3 separate regions of the Homo sapiens genome follow, and regions 1 and 2 are each linked to region 3. The links are contacts of gene promoters, found by promoter capture Hi-C in blood cells and fetal thymus (Javierre and others, 2016). All regions are on one chromosome and are shown on one strand. The core of a region is centred on a gene start or on the middle of the fragment in contact, and the rest is flanking DNA. Distances in the headings are between cores, read along the strand shown.

Region 1 (3,349 bases), core at 717-3,216, 260 kb before region 3:
AGTGCAATGGCACAATCTTGGCTCACTGCAACCTCCACCTCCCAGGTTCAAGCGATTCTCCTGCCTCGGCCTCCCTAGTAGCTGGGATTACAGGCATGTGCCACCACACCCAGCTAATTTTGTATTTTTAATAGAGACGGGGTTTCTCCATGTTGGTCAGGCTGGTCTCGAACTCCCGACCTCAGGTGATCTGCCCTCCTCAGTCTCCCAAAGTGCTGGGATTACAGGCATGAGCCACCGCGCCCGGCCTTATTTTTTTTTTTCAATGTAGAATATGTGTCTTCTTTTGAGAAATGTCTATTCAGATATTTTGCCCATTTTTAAATCGGATTATTCGATTTTTTTCCTATGGAGTTATCTGAGCTTCAGATGAGTGGTTTGCAAATATTTTCTCTCATTCTGTGGGTCTCTTCATTGATTGTTTCCTTCGCTGTTCAGAAGCTTCTGAACTTGATGTGGTCCAGCATGCTAAATTCAGAACATTTCCATCCCCAACATTTCACCCCAAGAAGAAACCCCACCCCCCTGAGTCATTACTTCCAAATCCTCCTCTCTCCCCCCAACCCTTGACACTCAGCCTCCCAAGTAAGTAGGACTACAGGTACATGCCACCACGCCTAATTTTCTTTTCTTTTTTGTTTTTGAGGAGATGAGGTCTTGCTATGTTGCTCCAGCTGGTCCTTCACTTATTTAATCCTACCAGCTAGTGTTCTGGTATCTCCTCTGAATTTTTAATTAATTTCACTTCCAGAGAATTAAGTATTATTTTTGTTGACAGTTTGTTCTCTCAAACAGCATTGCATTTAGTAATACTTTTTTAGTTGTTGGGGTTTTTGTTTTTTCAAATGTTACTAATTTGTTTCCCTTTCCAGCTGAAGAAATAGTGACCAGGGGAGTAAATATTCTCAGGCCACTGTGTTTGTATATTATGGACAATCAAGAAAGAACTAGGGTATGTTAGAGACAGAACTCCAGAGGTCAGGTCATCTCCGTCTACTCACTTGGTGGACTTGGCTAAGTCACGTGATCTCTCTGGGCCTCCATTTCTTCATCTATAAAATGGACTAATACTTTCAACCTAGTACATGAAAGAAAATATGCTGATTGAACCAATCCTACTCCTGTTGCAACCTCACACCAGAGCACAGGCTGGGTGTTCATGTATGTTCCCTTGCCTGGTCTCTGGCTTTCCCTCTAGGAGATATCCTTCTTAACTCTGGTGCTCCTGGGAGCTGGGCTAAAGCTGATCTCTCGATTCTTGCCTCTGCCCAGTTTCATTGCAGGCAGCCTCCACTGAACTATGCCCACATCATCATCCCTGAATGGAAGATCTATAGCATGATGAGGTTCAATCAAATCCTGCTAAACAAACAAACAAAAAGCCACTGGCCTGATCGGTTGTAATATATTCTTTACAAAGTCCTTTATGATACTTATCTTAGTAAAAAATGGTGTTAAAACTTTGCCATATATGCCAGGCATGGTGGCTCACGCCTGTAATCCCAGCACTTTGAGAGGCCGAGGCAGGTGGATCACCTGAGGTCGGGAGTTCGAGTCCAGCCTGACCAACATGGAGAAACTCTGTCTCTACTAAAAATACAAAATTAGCCGGGCGTGGTGGCGCATGCCAGTAATCCCAGCTACTCAGGAGGCTGAGGCAGAAGAACTGCTTGAACGTGGGAGGCAGAGGTTGCAGTGAGCCCAGATTGCACCATTGCACTCCTGCCTGGGCAACAAGAGCGAAACTCCATCTCAAAAACAAAAACAAAACAAAAAAAAACCCCCAACTTTGCCATATTGCTTATGTGGTATATCTTAATCTATAACAAAGTGACACCCGTGTCAGCCAGCCTACACCCCTGGAAATCAGCCTTCCTTGCTTAGGGCTCCAGCAAGGCTCTCCCCACCCTAGCTGGTCTCCTGGGAAAAAGAGGAATTCAGGCAGCAACAGTCAAGCAAGCAGGTGCTTCAGCAAGCAAGTAATCCATCTCAAGAAGCCGTAACCAGCGATCGTTCAACAATTCTTAGGAGTCTTGTGAAGTCTGCAAGCTCCATAAACGAGGGCTCTTGCATGTCCTCAGGTGAGCTCTGCTTTGTTGTCATCTTATTGAAGTGGACCCACAGCAGCAAGGTGAGCAAAGCCAAAGGAAGCCCCCTGCCTGAGTCTAGCTCAGGTGAACTGACAGTCCAGACAGGACAACCGAGAGGGACCCTGTTTTCATACTGCTATAAAGAGCTGCCCATGGCCAGGCGTGGTGGTGGGCGCCTGAGGCAGGAAAATCACTTCAACCCAGGAGGTGCGGGTTGCAGTAAGCCAGATCACACCACTGCACTCCAGCCTGGGTGACAGAGTGAGACTCTGTCTCAAAAACAAAACAAAACAAAAAGGCCGGGCACGGTGGCTCACATGTGTAATCCCAGCACTTTTGGTGGCCGAGGTGGGCAGATCACTTGAGGTCAGGAGTTGGAGACCAGCCTGGCCAACATGGTGAAACTCCGTCTCTACTAAAAATACAAAAATTAGCTGGGCGTGGTGGTGTGTGCCTGTAATCCCAGCTACTTAGGAGACTGTGTCAGGACAATCGCTTGAACCTGGGAGGTGGGGGTTGCAGTGAGCCGAGATCACGCCACTGCACTCCAGCCTAGGTGACAGAGTGAGACTCCATCTCAAAACAAAACAAAACCAAAAAACTACCCAAGACTGGGTAAGTTAGAAAGGAAAGAGGTTTAATTAACTCACAATTCTGCATGACTAGGGAGGTCTCAGGAAACTTACAATCACGGCAGAAGTGGAAGCAAGGCACCTCTTTCACAAAGCAGCAGAAAGAAGTGTGGAGTGATGGGGGAAGAGCCCCTTATAAAACCATCTGATTTCCTGAGAACTCACACACTATCATGAGAACGGCATGGTGGAAACCACCCCTACGATTCAATTACCTCCACCAGGTCTCTCCTTTGACACGTGGGGATTATGGGGATTACAATTTAAGATGAGACTTGGGTGGGGACACAAAGCACCTAACCATATCAGCCCTAAAGCCATGGCTGGAGAAGGCTCCTGCCAGAAGTCCACCCCGAAGCCCTCAGACTCCACTGTGGCCTTTCCTCACTCTGCTTCCTATCTCCATTTTTCTTTCCCTGAAGGAGGTTGCTCTATCAATGCCTCCCGTGACAACACATGCCCCCTCCTCCCCCACCCCCCAGGCTCAGCGATAAGGAAGCTGGTGCCCTGAATCCCTGCCCCACCCAAGACTCTTTCCTTTTCTTCCCACTTAGTCTACTTGAAACTCCTCTCTGTATTTTTTTAATTAAGTTACCCACCTCAGCTTTGTTTCTCAAAGGCTTTAAC
Region 2 (3,480 bases), core at 358-2,857, 300 kb before region 3:
GCCACTTTCTAAAGTGAAGTCAACTTTAGACTTCACTTGTAAGTCTAAAGTACATGATGTTTCACTTCTGGTTCCTAACTCTGAGGTTACAGGGAGAGACCCACTCTGTTCTACTTCATGTATCACAGTTCCTGAAATGCCATTGGTTAGAAGTCCTTTGGGCAAACAACTGACCTTTTCTGCAAATCCTTCTTATCTAACAAGGCCCAGCCTAAATGTCACCTCCAAAACCTTCCTCAACTTCCACCCCTAGGAGAGTAACATTCTCTTTAGTACTTATTTTGTCATAGGACTTGTCAGACTCTATTGTAATTAATTATTATGATCATTTTACATTTCTCTCCTGTATCTTGCTGGCTAGCATGGGGTCTTACTGATCTTTCATCCTCAGCTCTCAATAATGGGCATTTATTATCCTCAATAATGTGTGTTTTGGGATGATGAGGAGCATTCAGAGAGCCATTGTAATTAGGAAGACACTTCACGTGGTTTCCAATACAGACAGGCATTATTATTGCCACGTTACAGTTGAGAAGATTAAGCCACAGAAAGTTTAACTAGCCCCAAGTAATAGTTAAATGGCAGAACCACAGTCAAACTCCAAAGACAGTGGTCTATACTAGTACACATTACTGTCAGGCTACATCCAAATTCTTAGAAAATAATTTGGACTCATCTCTGGGTACAGATAAATGAGCTTTTGAGGTCACAGAATTCTGCTTCATCTAGTGTGGCACCCGTAATCACAATTTCATTAGCACAAAATAACTGCTTTGAGCTAAGCAACTCACTCTAGAGGCTTCTGAGTACTCAATCAGATTAAAAGTAGGTGCCATCCACCCAAAACTGTTACTTCGGTTTTAAGTGAGTTGAGGAGCAGCATGTGGCCCTTATTGCTGGCTGTTTACTAAGGCCGTTTCGAGGTTGTGAAAACAAGCCTGATCCGAGTATAGCACAGTGGCCTGAGAGTGAGGACCCCGGAGTGTGACGGGTCTGGTTCGCATCTGCTTCACTACTTGCTAGCTGTGTGACCTTGGGAAAATTAACTTCCCTTTCTGAGCCTCACTTCTCTTTTCTGTAAAGTGGGGAGTATAATTCCTACTTCAATGTTGGACAGACCAAATTACAATATGTGTACACATACATACCCCTGGCACAGGGCCCTCAACACTAGCAGCTACTATTGTGAATTTCTGAGAAAGAGGATGCATGTCTTTCTATTCCCTAGAGCAGGGCATCTACAGACAGCTCATGCAAAAGTGTATAATTTAATTAAGGAAATATTTCAAGATAAAGAAAACTCAGAACCTGTCCCTATTTTATTCTGCTGGATATTGTAAACTGAACCATGAAGAGACTCCAAGGCTGAAGCTAGTATTACTGTCACTTCCATGGCTCTATGCGGGCTCATGATTCCCATATGGAGGTCAGGAAGCTTAGTATGTGACCAATTCTGCCTAAAGAGTCATTAGCAAGGGAGGGTCAATAAAGTCACAATCTTATATAAGGCATGCATCCTTCCACCTACACCTCTTCATCTTGTACCAGATCTAGATAGTGTCTCAGGTAAGCCTAAGAATCTGAGCTCAGAAATCAGATCACCTGGACTCAGATCCTGACTCCAACTTAGTAGCTGCATGACTGAGGACAAGTTATTTAACCCAACATCATGTTGCTTGGGGAAGTTTCCTTTGATGACAACACAGATGGGCAGAGATGGGCTATGATTTATGTCTTCCCTCCCAGCATGTGCATCCTGGGTCATGACACAGGTATTTGGAAGCTTAAGCCCCAGTAGGAAGCTGACCTTTCTGGATTCTATAGACCTGTGTTTAGCATTAAGTATTTTCAAAAAAGCTCTCTAAGCCAAGGGAAACAGCTTCTTCTGCCTAATAATTAAGACTTCTAAAGAATGGTGGCCACTTTGAATGACAGAGAGAAATGGGGCAGGGAGAAAGGAACTGGCATATACTGGGCCAGTTCCTTCTGTGTGCCAGATTTTACCCCCCACCCCACATGCAGATCTCCTATCGCTACCCCCTTTAAAGATCAAAAACATTCTCAGAGGTTGTCTTCATTTCACACACGAAGAGACAGTAGTTTGCCCAGGTTTACACAACTTAATTCCCCAAGTCTTTCTGATTTCAAATCCCAAGCTCTCTCCTTCACATGACACTGTTTATGACTTTTCCTTACACACCCCTGTTTACCTGATTTTAGATCCAAATATTAATATTACAGGGCTCAGGTCTTGGCCTAGGAACAAGGACTGGCATCCTCTTTTCTTCTTCCCCCAGTCTTCACAGAACTATCTAGAATTCCTCATTCAGTCACACTGTCTGAAATGTTAACAAGTAGAGACTTCCTAGGGTAAAAAGCCTCCTGGCACATTCAGATGTAGGGAAAATCCCATATTTGATTATAATAACATTTTACTTCCTCTTTCCAACTTGAAAAAAAAACTCAAGCCTTCTTGTATTACAGGTTCTCAGAAATGTTGATCCATCTTTTGTATCTAAGTTTTTATTTCTCCTTTTGCAAAAGCTGCTCTAAATACCAGCTTTGCTGCTCCGTAGGCTCTGAATGGTCAGAAGAACATTCACATTACGAGGATGACTCTGTGGAATGCTTGACCACTAAGTTTGGTAAATAGCTGGTCAGTCTTTTTCACTTTAGCCACAGCTGGGGAGGAAAGCCTCTATATGAGTGGCAGAGGCTGGCTGGCTGTTTACCAGACTCATTTCTTCTTTCTGAGGACACAGTAGCTTACATTTCCTAGCTTTCTTTGCCATTGGTTTGCTACAGCCATGCAATTGAGTTCTAGCTAATGGAATATGAGCAGAAGTGATCCACTCCACTTCCAGTGTGAGACCCCTAACTCCCCTGCTCCCCATGCACAGCCTTCCACTGTCTTCTTCCTATTGCTGGCATGAAGCACATAAGCAAGCTATCTTGGAAGCCATGTGTTGAAGCTGGTGAAGACTACAAGATGGAAGGAGCCTGGTCCCAGAATCACCACTTGGAGGAAAGCTGCTTGCTGTTCAAGTACTCCAGTTTTGGATTTCACACAGGGAGGGATAACCAGTAAGGGATAACAAGTTAAACCAGCAAGATTTGGGTTTCTGACCCCCTAGTTGACCAACAGATCAGCTGACCCCCTTCTGATCCCCTAGCTGACTGACAGATTCATGAGAACTACTGGGGGAACCCGCCCCCAGTATTTCAGCGTTGGTTCTTTCTATTTTCCATAAGTATCAGCCGGCTGAGAAATAATGAGAAAGAGTACAAAGAGAGGAATTTTACAGCAGGGCTGCTGGGGGTGACATCACATATCGGTAGGACCGTGATGCCTGCCCAAGCCTCAAAACCAGCAAGTTTTTATTAAGGATTTCAAAAGGGGAGGGGATGTATGAACAGGGAGCAGGTACAAAGATCACATGCTTTAAAGGGCAAAAAGCAGAACAAAGATCACATGCTTCT
Region 3 (3,581 bases), core at 540-3,039:
AATGTCCTCTTTCATGCCATGTAAGCCATTGCCTAATTGAGGCCAGACCTGTCAGGCTCAACAGCATCCCGGAAATGACTAGCCTACTAGGGCTGGAAACACATCAAGAATTTGGAATATTTCTCATATTGGGGCAGACAAAAAAAGTTCAAATGAGATTGTCCATAAAAACAATTATTATACTGTTCCACAAGGGAAAAAGAAAGAAAGACATAAAAGGCATATCTGTGTTATTCTGGTAAATCCACCACCACCAATACATCTCAATTCTGTATCTTACTGTCAGGTGATGGTCAACTGAACTTACCCACTTACCCCTCTTCTTCCTATATACGAACAAGAGTTCACTTCTCAAGCCTCATTTTGAATACCCGTCTTTTAATCTAATTACCATTTTATATCCTTAGCTACTAAAACCACCTGGAGCATGGCTGATTTCTTGACTTGGAAACCTGTTAACAATAATGCCTAGCTCCTAATCTTCTTAATGTTTTTTCACTTCTTACCAAGAATATCCATTAAATGTCTAAAAGAAATACAAGCATACACAGATCTACACACACTGAAATCCCAGTCATGAAAAATTAAGACATTCCGGCCATAAACTGTGCAACAAGACACTTCCAGTTAGTGTGTGCTTTAGTGATCATGGACAGCGGTATCAGAGTGAGTGGTAGGGGGTTGGGGCTGCCAACAATATACTGTGCCTCAGAGCCAATAAGCAGCAGGCCGGGACTGGCAGCCAGGCCAGTCTCTAAAGGGAGATTTAACACAATATCTGAATGCTGGACTTCCCAATGCCATTTCATGGAGAGGGATGGAGCGAGAACTGGGCATCAAGTGCAGTCAAAGGCTTTGGTCAACGTCGGAGGAGATGAAACCTAAGACAAGGTCTGGTGCCAACGCCAGCTGTCCAGTCTCATCTCACCTCAAACACAACTTCATTTCAGATCGTTCTTATCAAAGTCAGCCGCTCAAACGGTGAAGGGTGGCAGAAGCGGATGGCCACAGCCCTCAAGAGACAGGCATAGGCTCTGGGAAAAGGCAGGGACTCCCCAGATACGAAGGGGCTTCCAGTAGCAGAGAGGAGCGCTTTGCAGCCGCCTCCTCGTCCCCTTCCAGCTAAGGCTGTTAGGAACGAGGTTAGGATGTTATTTGAGGTTTTTATGAAGGAATGATAGGAGAAAATGGCAATGAAGGATGAGGGGGGCTGGATGGGCTGGAGCCGCCCAAGAAAACGGGGAGAGGACTTCCCTGGACACATCCAGGATCACAACGCCACCAGCGAGCACGGGCACTGCCCTGCCAGCGCCGATCCCCCTCTCTCAGGACAAGCCCCTTTCCAAACGGCCCTAATTCCCAAACGCTGCTTCCCACCCGACCTCTCTCCTCCACCACACTCCCCAAGGCCGGCCGCCTTTCCCTTCCGCCTCAGGCGCCCCACGCCCTCAATCTCCCCTCTCCCTCCCGGTTACCCACCCTCCAGGCTGCCCGTCGCGGGCCTCCCAGGCAGCTCGCCCAGACCCCTCCCCCCTCACCTCTCCTCAGCGCCTCCTCGTAGCTGAGGAATCCGATCCGTGACTCCTTGGCACCCATGCTCCCCTCATCCCCTCGGCGGGGGGTCGGAGCCTGATCTCGCCCCCACCCCCCTCCCGCCTTCTCCTCGGCGTCCCTGGGTGACGGTGACGGTGTCGGCGTCCCCCGCCCCCACCTCCCCCCACACTAACAAGTGCGGCTTCTGCCCCGGCGGCTCCTCCCGGTCGCCGCCACCGCCTCCATGCCGGATCACGTGACTCTTCCGCCCCGCCCCCTTCCCCTGCCTCCTACTCCGCCCTTCTCTCTCCTCTCTCTCCTCCCTCTCCTTCCCTCCTCACGCCCTCTTGCCACTTCCGCCCCCTCCCGCCAGCTCCGCCGAGGGTCACGGGACCCGAGGCCAGACACTGTTCCCGGTAACGGCCGCCCAGGGCCGCACGCTCCGCCCCTCCCCAAGCTAACCGCGCGCAGGAGCGCCGGGGAGGGGGACGCATCTCCGCACGTAACGCATCGTCCCATCTTCCCGCCAATCGCAGCCGCGCGCCCCGCCCGGGCGCCTCCGCTGGCGACGGGGGGTGGTGACTTCCGGGGCGCTTGAGGACGACCCCCCCCGCCCCCGCGCCCACATGTTCTGGCGTTCGGCGGGTGGGGTCCGAGCAGCTGACGGTTAGTGTGGCAGTTGCCGGGACCTAACATGGAAGACCGCAGAATCTTAGGGAATGGGGTTCTGAGGGATGCGGCATATGGCTCAGAAGAGAAAGGAGTGGGTAGGCAGGGAGCTCCCAACCTTAGGGACGTCTTTGACTGGGAGGGCGTTGTGAAAGGAAAGGAGAATCTCAAGGCTTTCCTGTGACAAAAGAATGCTCACACCTAGCGGGAGATCCCTGAGGAAAGTGGACCTTGTTAACGAAGTGGATCTGCCTTTTCGGGTCATCTCGCCTGCCCGGCCCACCTTCTCCTCCTGACCATGCCTCTTGTACACATTCTCTGGAAAGCGCTGTGCAAAAGGCTTATCCTCTCTCCCAGAGTTTCTCCCCGAGAAACATGAGGGCTACAAGGCTTAGCGTGGAGTCGTTTTAATCTGTGGTAAAATATACGTAACAAAATGTACCATTTTCACAATTTCTAAGTGAGTTCAGTGGCGTTAAGAACATTGATATTGTTTTGCATCCATTGCCACGTCCCATTTCCCACCGTTTTTCATCTTGCAAAAGGGAAACTCTGTGCCTATTAAACGGTAACTCCCCAATCCCCCTCCCACTGGTCCGTGGCAACCGCTGTCCTACTATCAATTTCACTACTCTTAAGTATTTCCTCTGAGTGGAACTCTGCAGACTTTCTCTTTTGTGACTGGCTTATTTCACTTGGCATCGTGCCTTCCAGGTTCATGGTGTGGCAGCATGTGACTGACTCTCCCACTCCACCTCTCCATTTCCCAAAGAATGAAAAGCAGGGATGTGAACAGGTATTTGTGCCCCCGTGTTTATAGCAGCATTATTCACGAGAGCCAAAAGGTGAACACAACCTATAGGAAACCATAAATGGAGAAACCAAATGGGGTGTATATGTACAGTGGAATTATTATTTAGTTCCTTGATTTTCAACTCTTATTTAGTTTGCGTCTTCAACCTAAAAGTCACGGAATAAAGCTTCTGGAAAAGGAAGCAATATTGAAAAAGTAACCATTTGGATTAGATTGGACCCAAGGTGCCGGTTAGGTAATTTAGGGCCAGGGAAAGGTTATTAGTTCCTAAAACCAACAGATTCTAATATACCCTGCTAGAGAAAGAAGGTAATATTCTGTGTTTTTCTTTTTTTTTTTTTTGAGACGGAGTTTCACCCCTGTTGCCCAGGCTGGAGTGCAATGGCGCGATCTCGACTCACCGCAACCTCTGCCTCTCTGGTTCAAGCGACTCTCCTGCCTCAGCCTCCCGAGTAGTTGGGATTACAGGCATGCGCCACCATGCCTGGCTAATTTTGTATTTTCAGTAGAGACAGGGTTTCTCCATGTTGGTCAGGCTGTTCTCGAACTCGCAACCTCAGATGAT

What was found. Contacts are between HindIII fragments. The CHiCAGO score rates a contact against its expected background, and 5 or more counts as called.
Region 1: a contact is called between a fragment that was not itself captured here and the fragment with the promoter of USP32 in region 3, in 14 of 17 cell types (endothelial precursors, fetal thymus, naive CD8 T cells and 11 more). The highest score is 11.2, in endothelial precursors.
Region 2: a fragment that was not itself captured here is called in contact with the fragment with the promoter of USP32 in region 3 in 5 of 17 cell types (total B cells, naive B cells, endothelial precursors and 2 more); the score reaches 9.0 in total B cells.

Annotation. Positions count from the first base shown.
Region 1 is chr17:60,131,435-60,134,783 of GRCh38, forward strand. It overlaps LOC100996660 (a long non-coding RNA gene), which reads right to left. Exons shown (of 3, transcript NR_187530.1): 1 at 3,322-3,349; 2 at 1,002-1,078. Among named protein-coding and RNA genes, the nearest start is that of CA4, 17 kb to the right of the region's middle. The HindIII fragment of the contact is 3,054 bases long and covers 440-3,349 here.
Region 2 is chr17:60,089,591-60,093,070 of GRCh38, forward strand. No RefSeq gene overlaps it. Among named protein-coding and RNA genes, the nearest start is that of HEATR6-DT, 12 kb to the left of the region's middle. The HindIII fragment of the contact is 348 bases long and covers 1,434-1,781 here.
Region 3 is chr17:60,390,344-60,393,924 of GRCh38, forward strand. It overlaps USP32 (ubiquitin specific peptidase 32), which reads right to left and starts at 1,790. Exons shown (of 34, transcript NM_032582.4): 1 at 1,539-1,790. The coding sequence starts at 1,596. RefSeq lists an enhancer at 1,505-2,346 and silencers at 1,521-1,580, 1,611-1,830, 1,941-2,260. The HindIII fragment of the contact is 3,969 bases long and covers 1-3,180 here.